2 separate regions of the Homo sapiens genome follow, and region 2 is linked to region 1. The links are contacts of gene promoters, found by promoter capture Hi-C in blood cells and fetal thymus (Javierre and others, 2016). All regions are on one chromosome and are shown on one strand. Each heading gives the region's core, a stretch centred on a gene start or on the middle of the fragment in contact. The rest is flanking DNA. Distances are from core to core; before and after follow the strand shown.

Region 1 (7,045 bases), core at 3,426-5,925:
CAACAGAGTGAGACCTTGTCTCAAAAAAAAAAAAAAAAAAAAAAAAAAAAAAAGAATCTCACAAATAGTTTCCAAATTCTGGGGAAATTTAGAGAGAAAGAATATGCTTCAAATTTTGATCAGAAAGGTATATTTTACCCAACTTGTTGTAAGCTATAAATAGCTCAACAGAAAAAAGTTTTCTTGACTCTGTAAAAACAAAACAAAAATTATCAGCAATGTTTCAAACAAAAAACAGTCATTAAAAATTACTTCACACACATACAAAAATTACTTTAATATTCTATTGGTTTAGTCCCATTAATTAACTCTTGTTCTTTTTGATGTTGGGTTAGCAATCCTCATGAATACATCAGCTTTTTAATTAGAGTCCTGGAAAGCATTTTCATAGTCCAATGCTATGATCTCCAAAGTTATCGGAAACTTGTATTCAAGAGTATTTGTTAGAGTCCTTTCCATGAATTTCCTTAAAGAAGAAAATTTTGGACTGCAGCTGATTATAAACTACTTTTTGAGAAGAATCAAAATAAAACAACAATTGTCTGTGGATGACAAAACTCTTAGAACAGCCATGGTTAACCTAATGCTAGATGACGAGTTAGTGGGTGCAGCACACCAGCATGGCACATGTATACATATGTAACTAACCTGCACATTGTGCACATGTACCCTAAAACTTAAAGTATTAAAAAAAAAAAAAAAAGAACAGCCATGGTTAAAGACACAATTGACAAGGAAATTTGGTTATTTCTGTGGCACACAACGATGTAACATAATAATCATAATTATTACTGATGTCATATACTAAGACATACCAGAATTACAGGAATCTCACACAATTTTGAAACACACATTAATAACTCATTCATATAAATATAACCCAAAGAAAGTTAAACACCATTTCACATTTGACAATGCTTCCTCTCCCCCACATAGCGTTCTATTCCCTTAGTGCCTTTGTTGATTTACAAATCTTCTCCAGGAGCTCCCTGAGACCAGGAATTGTTTTGTTCATCTTAATATTACTCCACACAGGATTTTGATCATCTGTGAGTAACAGGAAACCTAATTAAACAGTACTGTAGGCAAATATTGACCTAAAAGAAAGAAGCTGAGGCAAAATTAATATAGAGAATTTATTTGGGCCAAGGTTGAGGACTGTAGCCCTGGCCATATTGCAGGTTGCCTTGGAGAGTGCTCTGGGAAAAAAGGAGAGGCTCAACTTTTTAAAGAAAAAGAGACAAATCAGGGGAGAGGAACAATTACAAAAGTTGCTCATCAGGTATTCTCATTTGACTTTTTTTTTTTCTTGAGACAGGGTCTCATGCTGTCACCCAGGCTGGAGTGCAGTGGTGCAATCACGGCTCATTGCAGCCTCAACTTCCCAGGCTCAGGTGATTCTCTCATCTCAGCCTCCCAAATAGCTGGCACTACAGGCATATGCCATGACATCTGGCTAATTTTTTGTGGAGACATGGTTTGTTTGTAGAGACTCCCAAGTGCTGGGATTAGAGGCGTGAGCCACAGCACCCGGCCCTGATACTTTTCTTTTTTAGGCTAGTCAATGGGCCTCATAATTTAAAGGGGCTCACCTTCCTCAGATAACATGTTTTTATTCTGCCAGGGTTAGTGGCTCATGCTTGTAAACCCTCCATGTTTCCCAGCATGGTCTCAAACTCCTGGGCTCAAGCAATTTGCCCACCTTGGCCTCCCAGAGTGTTGGGATTACAGGTGTGAGCCACCATGCTCAGCAGGTATTCTCATTGGTTTACAGAAATAACATTGTTAGTGACTGGCCATGCACTGTTGAACTATAGGGTATATGGCATGTTAACGGCTTCTTGACATTAGTCTAGTGTATACATAGCAAGTGACTTCAAGAAGTTGTTACTTAGCTCAAGGGCGAATGAGATATTACTGCTGCTACATTTTAAATGCCTCTCTGGGCCTGATACTTTTTCTAGTGCAGGCTTGTGGTGCAGGACTGGCAGGCAGCTCTGCTCATGGCCCTGGCATGGGATCCACTAGGCGAAGCCAGCTGGGCTCCTGAGTCAGGTGGGGACTTGGAGAACTTTTATGTCTAGCCAGAGGATTGTATATGTATCAATCAGCACTCTGTGTCTAGCTTGGGGTTTATGGATGCACCAATCAGCACTCTGTATCTAGCTAATCTGGTGGGAACTTGGAGAACTTTTATGTCTGGCTAAAGGATTGTAAATACACCAATCAGCACCCTGTGTCTAGCTCAAGGTTTGTAAATGCACCAATCAGTGCTCTGTGTCTAGCTAACCTAGTGGGGACTTGGAGAACTTTTACTCTAGCTAGAGGATTGTAAATACACCAATCAGCACTCTATGTCTAGCTCAGGGATTGTAAACGCACCAATCAGCACCCTGTCAAAACGGACCAATCAGCTCTCTGTAAAACAAACCAATCAGTACTCTGTAAAATGGACCAATCAGCTCTCTGTAAAATGGGCCAATCAGCAGGATGTGGGTGGGGTCAGATAAGGGAATAAAAGCAGGGTGCCTGAGGCAGCAGTGGCAACCTGCTTGGGTCCCCTTCCATGTTATGAAAGCTTTGTTCTTTTGCTCTTTGTAGTAAATCTTGATGTGGCTCACTCTTTGGGCCCGTGCTGTCTTTATGAACTGTAACACCCATCGCAAAGGTCTGCAGCTTCACTCCTGAAGTCAGTGAGACCACGAACCCACCAGAAGAAACAAACTCCGGACACATCTGACCATCTGAAGGAACAGACTCTGGACACACCATCTTTAAGAACTGTAACACTCACCACAAGGGTCCATGGCTTCATTCTTGAAGTTAGCGAGACCAAGAACCCACCAATTCCGGACACAGTAGCACAGAGGCTGTGGGTGGTTTGACTAGAGCAGGCCCTAAGAATGGTGGGACATAGAAGCCTCGTTTCAGGGGTTTGAGGAGTGGGAAGTGAAAAACTAGAGACTAAGAGTGCAGACCATTTTTTTAAGCCACTTGGTTCTGAAGGGAAGAAAAGAGTGTGGAAGAGGATTTGGGGCAAGGCAGGATTTTTCTTATGATAAGGAATCCATCAGAGAGGGAAAAATTGAAGTCTGAGAAGAACGATTGTTCCAAGGTGGAAGAGCCACATTTTATTTTTGATTGAGGGTCAAAAACAGAGCCTTGGACTGCCTTGCGGTCTAGAATGGGTGTGTGTGGGGGGGTGGGTGGGGGGTTGGATGGGGGAAGATCACTGGGTGGGGGGTTGGATGGGGGAAGATCACTAGTAGTTAAAAGCAAGTACGCAGCATTGGGAATGAACCAAACTCGTAGGAGGCACAGCCCACTCAGTGTGCGGGCCCGGGCGAGCTGCAGGCCTGAAACCCACCCACCCTCTTAGATGTGTCTGTGGGCCATAGAAATTACTAGGGTTGTCTTGGGTGTGGCCTCAACCTGTTCAACAACAGGTGTGCTGTTTCCATTCTGGAAACCAGTCCTCTGTCTTCCAGAACAGTGATTCTCAAATTTTAGCTGGCATCAGAATCCTGGGAAGGGTTTGTTAAAACACTACTAGGCAGGGTGAGGTAACCTAAGAGCTTTTGGAGGCCCAGGTGAGAGGGATCACTTGAGGCCAGCAGAGTTCAAGAGCAGCCCAGGCAACACAGGGAGACCTCTTCTCTACAAAAATACTACTACTACTACTGCTAATAAAAGCCAGGCACCGTGGCTCACACCTGTAATCCCAGTGCTTTGGGAGGCTGAGGCTGGAGGATGAATCACTTGAGCCCAGGAGTTGGTTTTGGTGAGCTATGATCGCACTCCTGCTCTCCAGCCTGGGCAACAGAGATAGACCCTGTCTCTGGAAAAAGAAAAAAAAAAAAAGCAAGTAACAAAGATTTCTAGTCCCCACCTACAGAGATTGTGCCTCAGTAAGTATAAAGTGGGGCCCAGGATTTCTAACATGTTCTAACGTGCATTTCTAACGTGTTCTCCTGCTTTTTTTTGGCCCCTAGTCCGCACTTTGAGAACCGTTGTCCTAGAGAAAACGGAATACTCCAGGAAGGTTCTGGAAGAATAGGTAATGGGCTTTGGCACTCTGCCCTGGAAACTAGTCAAGTCTCATGTTAATCGGAGAAGGGCAGCACTGTACCAGATACATCCTCTGTGCGGGTTGGTCCAAGATGACCAAGTGGCAGCTGACAAGCACAGCTATGAGGAAGGGTTAGACACAGTTCCACATCAGACCCATGGGAAAAGGGCAGGAGAAATGCGAGAACCTTTTAGAAGGAATGCTCCAGGGAGTCTTTGGGGGCAGTCACTGAGCTGGGCCTGGAGGCTGAGTAGGGTCCTAGAGGAGGGAATGGGTCAGGTTTAGGGGCTGGAAACAGCATTCGCAAGGCAGCACCAGCACCAGCTAAAAACCTAGCCAACAGGGAAAACAAAGTACGGAAACACGCATGCGTTCACAGTGCTGCGTGAATTAACCAAGCGTTGGCGCAAACGGGAAAGGTTCCCCGGCCTCTCTTGGTCAGGGTGACGCAGTAGCCTGCAAACCTCGGCGCGTAGGCCACCGCACTTATCCGCAGCAGGACCGCCCGCAGCCGGTAGGGTGGGCTCTTCCCAGTGCCCGCCCAGCTACCGGCCAGCCTGCGGCTGCGCAGATCTTTCGTGGTTCTGTCAGGGAGACCCTTAGGCACTCCGGACTAAGATGGCGGCGACGGCCAGGCGGGGCTGGGGAGCTGCGGCTGTTGCCGCCGGGCTGCGCAGGCGGTAGGTGACGAGCCTGGAGCTCCGAATAGGTGTGCCGCTGGGCTTAGCCAGCGGAGCGGTCGCCGCCTTGCAGACCCTCTCTCGAGGCGGGTGGGTAGTGCATCTGATGGAGCCGGCGGGTCCGCCCTGTCGCCGTAGTTGGGGGTGAGCCCTGAGGCTGTCTGTGCGGGAGCTCGGCGCTTCTGTGGCCTAATCCGGGCGGACTCTCTGGAGCTTCCTCTCAGGCTCAGAGACCCAGTTCTTGAGTCTCTGCGGTACGGAAGCTTGTAGAGACTGGCTGTAGAGCCAGAACGGAGGAGCTGTTTTAAAATCGTGTGCCTCTCCCGCCCCCAGGCCCTCTACCGGGTGCATTCCCTCCTCTTCTAAACGCAGAATCAGAATGTCACACAGAAGGGAAGAAAATACCTTGTCTCGTTTCCTCATTTTCCCAGTAAGGCCCTGAAAGAGGAGGTGACATGTCCAAGGTTACACAGTTTCTAAGTGATGGAATTCCGACGAGAACCAGGACCCCTAGATTCCCTGCACCCACCACCATTAAGCCCACTCTGTTCCCTTGTTTTTTCCGCCTCCCTGAGCCCTACCTTTGAGTTTCACCTTTCAAAGACTTCTGTGAACATTGCTAAGAGGACATTTATGTAGGTGTACCTTAATTTTACGTCTGGAGAAAATGGCCTACGGAGAGTTTGCCCTCTAGAGTATTAGACATTGTAGTGTTAATGGTGCTCTTGAAGTTTAAATGTATATCCTAAAAAGATTTAAGTTGGTAGAATTTTTTGTTAGTTACCTCCTGTGTTTGAGTAGATGTCTTCCTTGAATAATGTAATCCACTCTTACTTTAAAAAAACAAGACTTTAAACCTGTATGTTGGAATGTGCTTCCTCTTTATTCATTCTGCTGCCTTTTCCCTGGGCTGAAGGGACGAGAATATTATTCTTCTAGTGCATTTCCAAATTCCAGAGTATTCACAGATTTAGATACTGAGCTATAGAAAAAGGCATTTTTACCCCAAACCTTGAACTGCACTCAATTAGTAATTATTGGGCACCAATTAAATAATGGTAGCAGCTGCCATTTATTGAGCACTTACTGCATGGCCTGGCACTGGTTTAAGCACTTTACATGGATTCTCTGGATTATTTATGAGGTAGCTGTGAAACTAATCTCATTGTAGAGATGAAGAACTGAGGCCATTGTGCTAGCAGCTAGAAATGAAGATAGTTTCTCCCCTTAATGAGTATGCAGTCTAGCAAGAAAAATATATTAACAAATAATGACAGTCATGAGTGCTGTAATAGATTCATGTAATTTAAAGTGGTGTGCCGGGCGTGGTGGCTCACGCCTGTAATCCCAGCACTTTGAGAGGTCAAGCTGGGCGGATTGGCTGAGGTCAGGAGTTCGAGACCAGTCTGGCCAACATGGTGAAACTAAAAAAAAAAAAAAAAAAGCTGGGCGTGGTGGTGTGTGCCTGTAATCCCAGCGAGTTGGGAGGCTGAGGCAGGGGAATTGCTTGAACCAGGGAGGTGGAGGTTGCAGTGAGCCAAGATCACGCCACTGCACTTCAGCCTGGGTGACAGAGTGAGAAAAGCGAGATTATTTCCATCTCAAAATAAAGTGGTGACAGCTCTTACTGTGATCAACACTGGAGCTAGTGTGGGGAGTGGCAGTCAGGACTTCACAGATTATTTGATTCCCATTCAGTGTTGATTCCATTGTTCTCTTGAATCCTCGGTGCCAATCCTTTTATCTCTCCAATAGCATCTAAGAAACTCTATGGGTTACAGTCCCACAGTATCCCAGTAGTCTTTTGCTTATCAATGGCATATAAAGATTATTGAAGGTAGTAAACAGTTCATCTGTATTTTGTTAATACTTAATTGGTGCCCACTCTTTCTTTTCCACGAGAAGAATTCCAGTTTTGTGAGAGAGAGAAAAAAATGTGGCAGCCGCTGTTGCTTCTTGCCTATTTTAAGCAGAAGATAATTAGATAAATGTGATCTTGTGTATGATCACAAACAATTTTGGCCTTTGGAAAAAATTTTAACAGAAAATTATGACAGTGAAAGACCGTTCTAACTGACCATCATTTTGCCTTTAACCTCTAGACTGCCCATTCCCGGGCTTGGGCCAAGCTAACTTTGGGAGACATTTAGTTTATAGTTTAAATGATAATAGCCCTTTCCCAAAATTAAACCACCTTTATAAAGCTAATGAAAGACCACCAGGTTTGGAGGATGAGAGGAGCCTGAATTCTGCTAAGGTGTAGATGTAAATGATTACCAGCCATTATTCTGGCGGT
Region 2 (7,637 bases), core at 3,171-5,670, 280 kb before region 1:
AGTAGAGATGGAGTTTCATCATGTTAGCCAGAATGGTCTTGATCTCCTGACCTCGTGATCCGCCCACCTCGGCCTCCCAAAGTGCTGGGATTACAGGCATGAGCCACCATGCCCGGCCTATTTCCTTCATTATTCTTTCTTTAGGTTTACTCTGCGCTTTTTTCTATTGTCTTTAGTTGAACTCTGACCCATTTATTTGTTTTTGCTATTTTTTATTGTAGTTAAATACATATAACATAAAATTTGCCGTTTTAAACATTTTGACGTGCATAAATTCAGTGGCATTAATTAAATTCACGATGTTGTGCAACTATCATCACTATTTCTAAAACTTTTCATCACCCCCAACAGAAAGTCTGTATCCATTAAGCAGTAAATCCCCATTCCTACCTCCCCCGAGACCCTAGTAACCTCTAATCTCCTTTCTGTCTCTATGAATTTGCCTGTTCCCGATATTTTATACAAGTAGAATCATATAATATTTGTCCTTTTGCGTCTGCCTTATTTCACTTAATGTAATGTTTTTAAGGCTCATCCATGTTGCCGCATGTGTCAGAACTTCACTGCTTTATATGGCTGAATAATATTCCATTGAATATACATACCATATTCTGATCCATTCATCTGTTGATGGACACTTGGGCTGTTTCCACTTTTTGGCTATGGCGAATAACGCTGCCGTGAACACTGGCATGCAAGCGTGAGTTTGAGTCTCTGTTTTAAATTCTTTTGAGTATATACCTATAATTATGTCTTTACATCACTGCTACTTCCAATAGACCATAGACCTTTAAGGTTGGTCTCATTCATTTTTACATCCCCAGACTTAGCACAGGCCAAATACACAGTAGGAATGGGTGTGAGTTTGGTAAATAAATGAATAATGATAACAATATTTTACATCCATGAATCACTTTGAAGGTTATAAAACACTGGTCATTTTTTTTTATTTAATCTTCCCAATGACCCTGTGAGATACTTAGGAGAGTCTAATATTATTATTTCTATTTTATAGAAGAGGATAGCCAAGGTAAAAGAATCAGTGTCAAAGTCACTTAGGATTCAAATCCAAACCTTTCACCATCTAGTTCAATTCCATTTTCATCCTAACTTGCTGTTTCTCCTGTTATTTCTGACAAAAAATATTGGTGAAAATATCCATTCTTACTGAAAATTAACTACAGGAATATAATAAAGGTTTTTCTATAAAAGAGCCAGAGGAGACTGGGGGAGGTCTTGATTTGTCCTTATTGTCTAGTCAAATAGCTGCTTACCTGGAGTTTAAACAATCCAGAGTAATTTTTTTTTTTTTGAGACGGTCTCACTCTGTTGCCCAGGCTGGAATGCAGTGGCATGATCACAGCTTGCTGCAGCCTCTACCTCCCAGGCTCAAGCAATCCTCACCTTAGCCTCCCAAGTATATGGGACTACAGGCGTGTTCCACCGTGCCTGGTTAACTTTTCAATTTTTTTTGTAGAGACAGGGTCTTGCCAGCCTTGTCTCCAACTCCTGGGCTCAAGCAATCCTCCTGCCTCAGCCTCCCAAAGTGCTGGGATCGCAGGCATCAGCCACCAAGGCCAGCCAGAGTGATCTTTCGACATCAGATTTGCTTGTGTTATTGCTGCTCTACGTGAAACCTTCCAATGCCTTTGCAGTGCTTCCAGGGTAAATAACAAAATCATTAACAGGCCTACCCACCCTGTAGAGTCTAGCTTTTGAGATCTAAACTCCAATCTCAACAGGGACTAGACAATTAGCTTAAATGAGCAAACAGGCTGGGTAAGAGATGAAAAACAGCAGCTGGCTTTTGGCTGCAGTGGTGGGAACTGACAAAGAGTGGCCGGGCTGTGGCAGCTCGGAGAGTCCATGCCACATGTGAAGCAGCAGCCAGGGCTTGATTTATTGCCATGGGGGCATGCAGGCCCAGGGTGGCCAGACCTCCCAAGTTTCTTAGAGGAGCAGAAATCTGGATATTTTGTGTGACATCTATATATGTTTAATAATGGCAATGAATTCAAATTTAAAAATCATTTGGGCCAACACTTTGGTGAGAATCAGAGGAAGCAGAACAGGCCAGATGCTGCCCACAGAAGATGGAGACCTCAACTCTTTGCTCTGCATGTCTCTCCTGGCTTACCTCCGGTCCCTCTGTACTCTGGCCATACCAGATATCTTCTAGGACCTCTTATGCAGTAGTTCTCAACCCTGGGTGCACACAGGAATCACTGAGGGGACCTGGAAGAAAAAAAAAGTGACATTTGGACCCCTCCTCTGGGTATTTCTTTAATGATGTTCACATATAGGCAGATTGAGAATGTCTAATTACCAACTGGACTTCTGCCTCCAGCTGTGCCCCCTCTGGTCAATTTCCCATATTGCAGCAAGAGGAATCTTTTAAAAACATAAATCTGATCAAGTCACTTCCCTACTCAAAATCTTCCATGGCTGCCCCTTGCCATCAGGATACATAACTTTGCACTCTTGGAAGGTCCTTCATGCTGCATCCCATGCAGAGCCCTCCATCCTCACTTCTTCCCCTCACTGCCTCTGCTCCTCCCCACCGTGAATGAACTTTGCTTCAGCTCCCCTGAATTTCTTGAAGTTCCATGGATGCACTGTGCTCTTTCACCTATGAGCCTTTGAACATGTGCAGTTGGCAAAGCCTGCGTGAAAGTGGTCACCAAGGCACTGATGGAGCGAGAGGAGGGACCGGGGGGATTTGAAGCAGTGCAGAGAGGTGGCCAACACTAGTACTATGTTCAAAAAGGGGAAAATTGAAGGCAGAGATTACAATTAGTATTGCTTGTTTCCCTCTCCCCAGCCCTCCGAGGGCCAAGTCCTGAGCATATGAAACAAATTCTGAATTGAATCGGAATTACATTCTCAGGAAATAGTCTCTAGTCTGCTTGCTTATTTGGAGGGGGAGCTCGTTCCTAATCTGAATGAGAGTCAAAGCAGAACAGTAGCACTAATGACCTATGTATTCACCCAAAATGCCAATATTTATTGATCATTTACTGGTTGCCTGGCACGTTGGAACTGTAATGACAACCAGAGAGCTTATTGCCAATTGGTAAAGACTTCGCCAGGCACAGTGACTGATGTCTGTAATCCTAGCACTTTGGGAGGCCAAGGTGGGACGATCACTTAAGCAGGAGTTTGAGACCAGCCTGGGCAACATAGTGAGACCCCATCTCTACTAAAAATACAAAATTTAATGATTTTTAACTAATGATTTTTGTATAATTAATAATTCAAAAAATAATTTTAGGCAGGGCATGGTTTCTCATGCCTGTAATCCCAGCACTTTGGGAGGCTGAGGCAGGTGGATCACTTGAGGTCAGGAGTTCGAGACCAGCCCAGCCAACATGGTGAAACCTGTCTCTACTAAAAATATAAAAATTAGCCAGGTGTGTTGGTGGGCGCCTGTAATCCCAGCTACTCAGGAGGCTGAGGCACAAGAATCACTCAAACCCGGGAGGCAGAGTTTGCAATGAGCCGAGATTGCACCACTGCACTCTAGCCTGGGCAACAGAGCAAGACTCCGTCTCAAAAAAAAATAATAATAATTTTTAAAAATTACTTGGATGTTGTGGCACATACCTGTAGTCCCAGCTACTCAGGAGGCTGAAAGCAGGAGGCTTTCTTGAGCCCAGGAGGCTGCAATGTGCTATGGTTGCACTATCATACTCCAGCCTGGGTGCAGAGCGAGACCCTGCCTCAAAAAAAAAAAAAAAAAAAAAAAAAAGACTGGAAAATAGTCAATGGTTAGAAAACTGTAAAAATGGGGGTGTGGCAAGGTCAGGAGTTCAAGACCAGCTTGGCCAACATAGTGAAACCTTGTCTCTACTAAAAATACAAAAAATTAGCTGGGCGTGGTGGCAGGTGCCTGTAATTCCAGCTACTTGGGAGAATGAGGCAGGAGAATCACTTGAACCTAGGAGGTGGAGGTTGCAGTGAGCCGAGATTGTGCCACTGCACTCCAGCCTGGGTGACAGTGTGAGACTCAGTCACAAAAAAAAAAAAAAGGAGGGTAGCTAGCTTGAGACTTGGAATATCAGGAAAAGCTTTATAAGAGACTCTGGAAGGACAAGCAGAGGCCATGCTGTGTATGCATGTGTGTGTATGCATGTGCGTATGCACACATGTGTATGCATGTATGTGTGTGCATGTATATGTGTGTGCATGTGTGCAGCATGTGTGTGTATGCACGTATGTGTATGCATGTGTGTGAATGTGTGTGTATGTGTGTGTATGCATGTATGTGTGTGCATTTGTGTATGCATGTGTGTGCATGTGTGCGCATGTGCATGCATGCATGTGTATACGTGTGTACATGTTTGTGTATGCATGTGTGTGCTGTGGATAGGGCTGGTGGGAGAGAAGGAAACCCCAAAGCACAAGAAGCAGCAGGTATAAAGCCCTGGAGCCAAAGAAGTCATGACAGGTTCTGGAAAGTGTAAGTAATTCCACAAGTCTGAACCTGAGTGATTCTATGACCTCTTCCAGTGACCTCAAATTCTGGCTAAGCATTTCCCAAACGTAGCTGAAATAGTATCTACTTGAGAAAGTTGAATATAATTTAGTTCCTGGCTGGTGTATTACATCCCCCCAAGAATCTCTTAAGAGATTGTCAGGTAAAGAAGGAAGGGTGAAATGACAAACATCCAGAGGGTGGGGGTGCCATTTATATTGCAATCCATCTCCCAGTGGTAGCCTTCTTTGGGAATTCTGACCAGCTGGGGGGACCTTTCCCCACAGGTTCAAGCTTTTGTCTAGCAAATCTGGGGTCCTCACTTCTGTTATGTAGATGGGAAGCAAGGTTCTCCTGGGGTTACACAGCAGGAACTTGACATTTGGAGAATGTGATTGATGAGTTCTGTCCTCCCACAGAGAAGTCCCATGGTGAGAGAGGGCTCTAGAAGCCAAGTAGCCAGGGGACTTTCCAAACTAAACATCTGCTATGAAATGCAGACCGCACTGAGCTATGCCTGACCTAGCTAGACATACAGCCTTAGGGTATCAAGCATCTCCCTAGCCAGGGTTTCCCCATTAAAACTATTCCTTTTAATTCCAGCTTTCTTACTTAGAGGACCCCTGCTGAAACATTCTAGAGGGAAGGGAGTGCATAGGTTGTGTACGTCTCTTAGTTTGCCTGTCATCTGGTAGAAAGCCAAGGCCCATAGGGATCCAGGCACATTCTAGTTTAGTTAGTGCCTGAAACAAGCAAACTGGATGAGGTACCAGTCCCAGGCATCAGGAAGGCTCAGGGCATCTGCTGCAGAGGCAAGGCTTTGTGGGGAGGGGTCACAGGGAACAACATATTCCAAAGAAGATGAAACAAAGAAAAGCAAAGTTTCCAGTTAGATACGTGGAGTTAAAGAGGAAATGGCGGTAACAGAAAGATGCAGCGACGGGTAATTCCAGAAATGAAAAGGATGGGACATCAGGCCTTTCTGCTTCAACTCAAAGTCAGATCCCTTGAACTCACAAAATAATATTGGCTGATACCCTGGAGAGGGAGGCCTTTGTTACCCTCATTTATGATGCAGGAATAATGATCAAATGCCACCTGCTTGTGTCGATGAGCCAGGCCTGACAATTAAAGGGTGGGCGCCAGGATGGGCTTTGGGAGTGTGGGATGAAAGGCACTGGATGAGAACAAAGGGGCCATGGTGGGAGTTTTCCAGCACCAGCCTCAGTTTTCTGCACAGAAGCCTCCTGCCACCTCAATGCCAGCTTTGAAGGCATAGGCAGGCAAAGAAAACCAACAAGCCAAACAAAATGCATATGGATGCTTTTAAATGGGCATGTTCCTATTCAGTGGGCATGAATTGGAGAATATTCATCTTCAGCCACCTCCTGCACCCTCAGGGCGTCAGCTCCTCCTTCCAGGACCACTGAAGAGATGGAGCCCCCACCCCAGCCCCTCTGCTACACGATGCTGCTTTACGGTCTCCCCTGCACTTCCCTTGTTTCTTGATTGGTTTCTCTGGTTATCATCTGTTTTGTCTTGCCACAGTGTGATGCCAGGGAGCAGAGGCTGGACGGTGTTCTCCTCCACACAGTGCTTGGCCAGTAGTAGGCAGACAGCAAACAGCTGAATTGATGACTCAGAAAAACTTAAACATCGCCAACTCTGTCATCTCTTTTAGTAAACCTACTGGACAATTCCATTTAAATGTATGATACTTACTTCAAACTGCACATGAACAAAACACAACTCTTTTCGTTCTTGCCCTCCCCTCTGGCCAATGACCAAGTCAAAAACGTCGAGTCATTTTCCATCCTGAGCTCTTCACCTGGATTCCCGGAGCAGCCTCATAACTAATCCGCTGCCCTCCTGTTGTGCTGTCTCTCAGACCCGTTCTCCCGAGTGATCTTCTCAAAACGAGCTTGAGCATGTCACACCACTGCTTGAAACCCTTTGGGGGCTCCCTGTCGCCCTCACATAAAGACCAAACATTTTAACCTGACAAACAAGGCCTTCCCTGATGTGGCTCTCGCCCGTCTCTCCAACCCCCTCTGCACATCTCAGCTCAAGTCATCCTGAGCTGCTCGCAGTTCCTCGAGTGCAGCTGCTGTTACGTTCACCCTCTGCCTCTCCTCTTATCTTTCTGGTGAATCCCTTTTTTCCTGGTTCACCTGTTCTATGAAGACTTTTTTTGACCAGTATTGTATTTCTCAGGACTCTTGACTTTAAGGGACAGAAACCCAACACAAACTAGCTTCAGTTAAAAGGGGATGTATTAACTCATTTAAGTAAGGACTAGACAGAGCCACCACAGGAATGGCTAGATCCAGACACCCAAACAATGCTGTCAGCTCTCTCTCTCTCTCTTACTCATATGTACATGTATTTTGGCTTCTTATTATGAGTTGGTCTCATCCTTTCTTGCTAGAGGAGACTGTACTCACAGAGAACTCTAGACTTACATACAGTTTGATCACTCCAGGAGAGAGTGAGGCTTCTTTCTCCCAGTCTCAGGTTATTAAAATTATGGGAAAGGCTAAGAGTAGCCTGGCTGGTGACGTGTGCCCAGCACTTGGCCCATGACTAGAGGGACAGTGTTGTGATTGACCATGCCTTGGACTCTCTTTCTTGACCTAGGAAGAAAGAATGGGTATTCCTCTTGAGGGAGCAGCTGCCAGATAAAAGAGGGAGTCTGTTATCACATAAAGAGGGTAGACCACTGATGTCTCCTTCTTACCCCTCCCTCCACCTCCATTTATGTTCCCACTGCCCTCTGTGCATAGGCACAGAAGGGGACAAAACACATTTTGGACTCAGATAGACATAGAGCCAGTTACTGGCTTTATAGTAACTATGTGACTTTGGGAATGTTTTAAGCCTCTTCGTGCCTCTGCATTTGCATCTGTACAATGTTTTAGGGATGTGTTGTGAGGGTTAAAAACCTAGGCAAATTATCTGGGACATAGTAGGTACTATGGCAGTCATAACAATTATATTTGACCATCTCCCTTTTCTAAACCATGATTTGGCCAGGCGTGATGGCTTATGCCTGTAATCCCAGCACTTTGGGAGGCCGAGGTGGGAGGATCACTTGAGACCAGGAGTTCAAGACCAGCCTGGCCAATATGGTGAAACCCCGTCTCTACTAAAAATACAAAAAGTA

What was found. The method cuts DNA at HindIII sites, captures the fragments that hold promoters and counts their contacts. A CHiCAGO score of 5 or more calls a contact.
Region 2: a contact is called between a fragment that was not itself captured here and the fragment with the promoter of NFU1 in region 1, in 1 of 17 cell types (total B cells). The highest score is 6.7, in total B cells.

The regions. Positions count from the first base shown.
Region 1 is chr2:69,435,065-69,442,109 of GRCh38, reverse strand. NFU1 (NFU1 iron-sulfur cluster scaffold) reads left to right here and starts at 4,675. Exons shown (of 8, transcript NM_001002755.4): 1 at 4,675-4,749. The coding sequence starts at 4,688. RefSeq lists an enhancer at 4,670-4,819. The HindIII fragment of the contact is 2,434 bases long and covers 2,581-5,014 here.
Region 2 is chr2:69,715,372-69,723,008 of GRCh38, reverse strand. It overlaps a transcript of ANXA4 not described here. Among named protein-coding and RNA genes, the nearest start is that of ANXA4, 23 kb to the left of the region's middle. The HindIII fragment of the contact is 701 bases long and covers 4,070-4,770 here.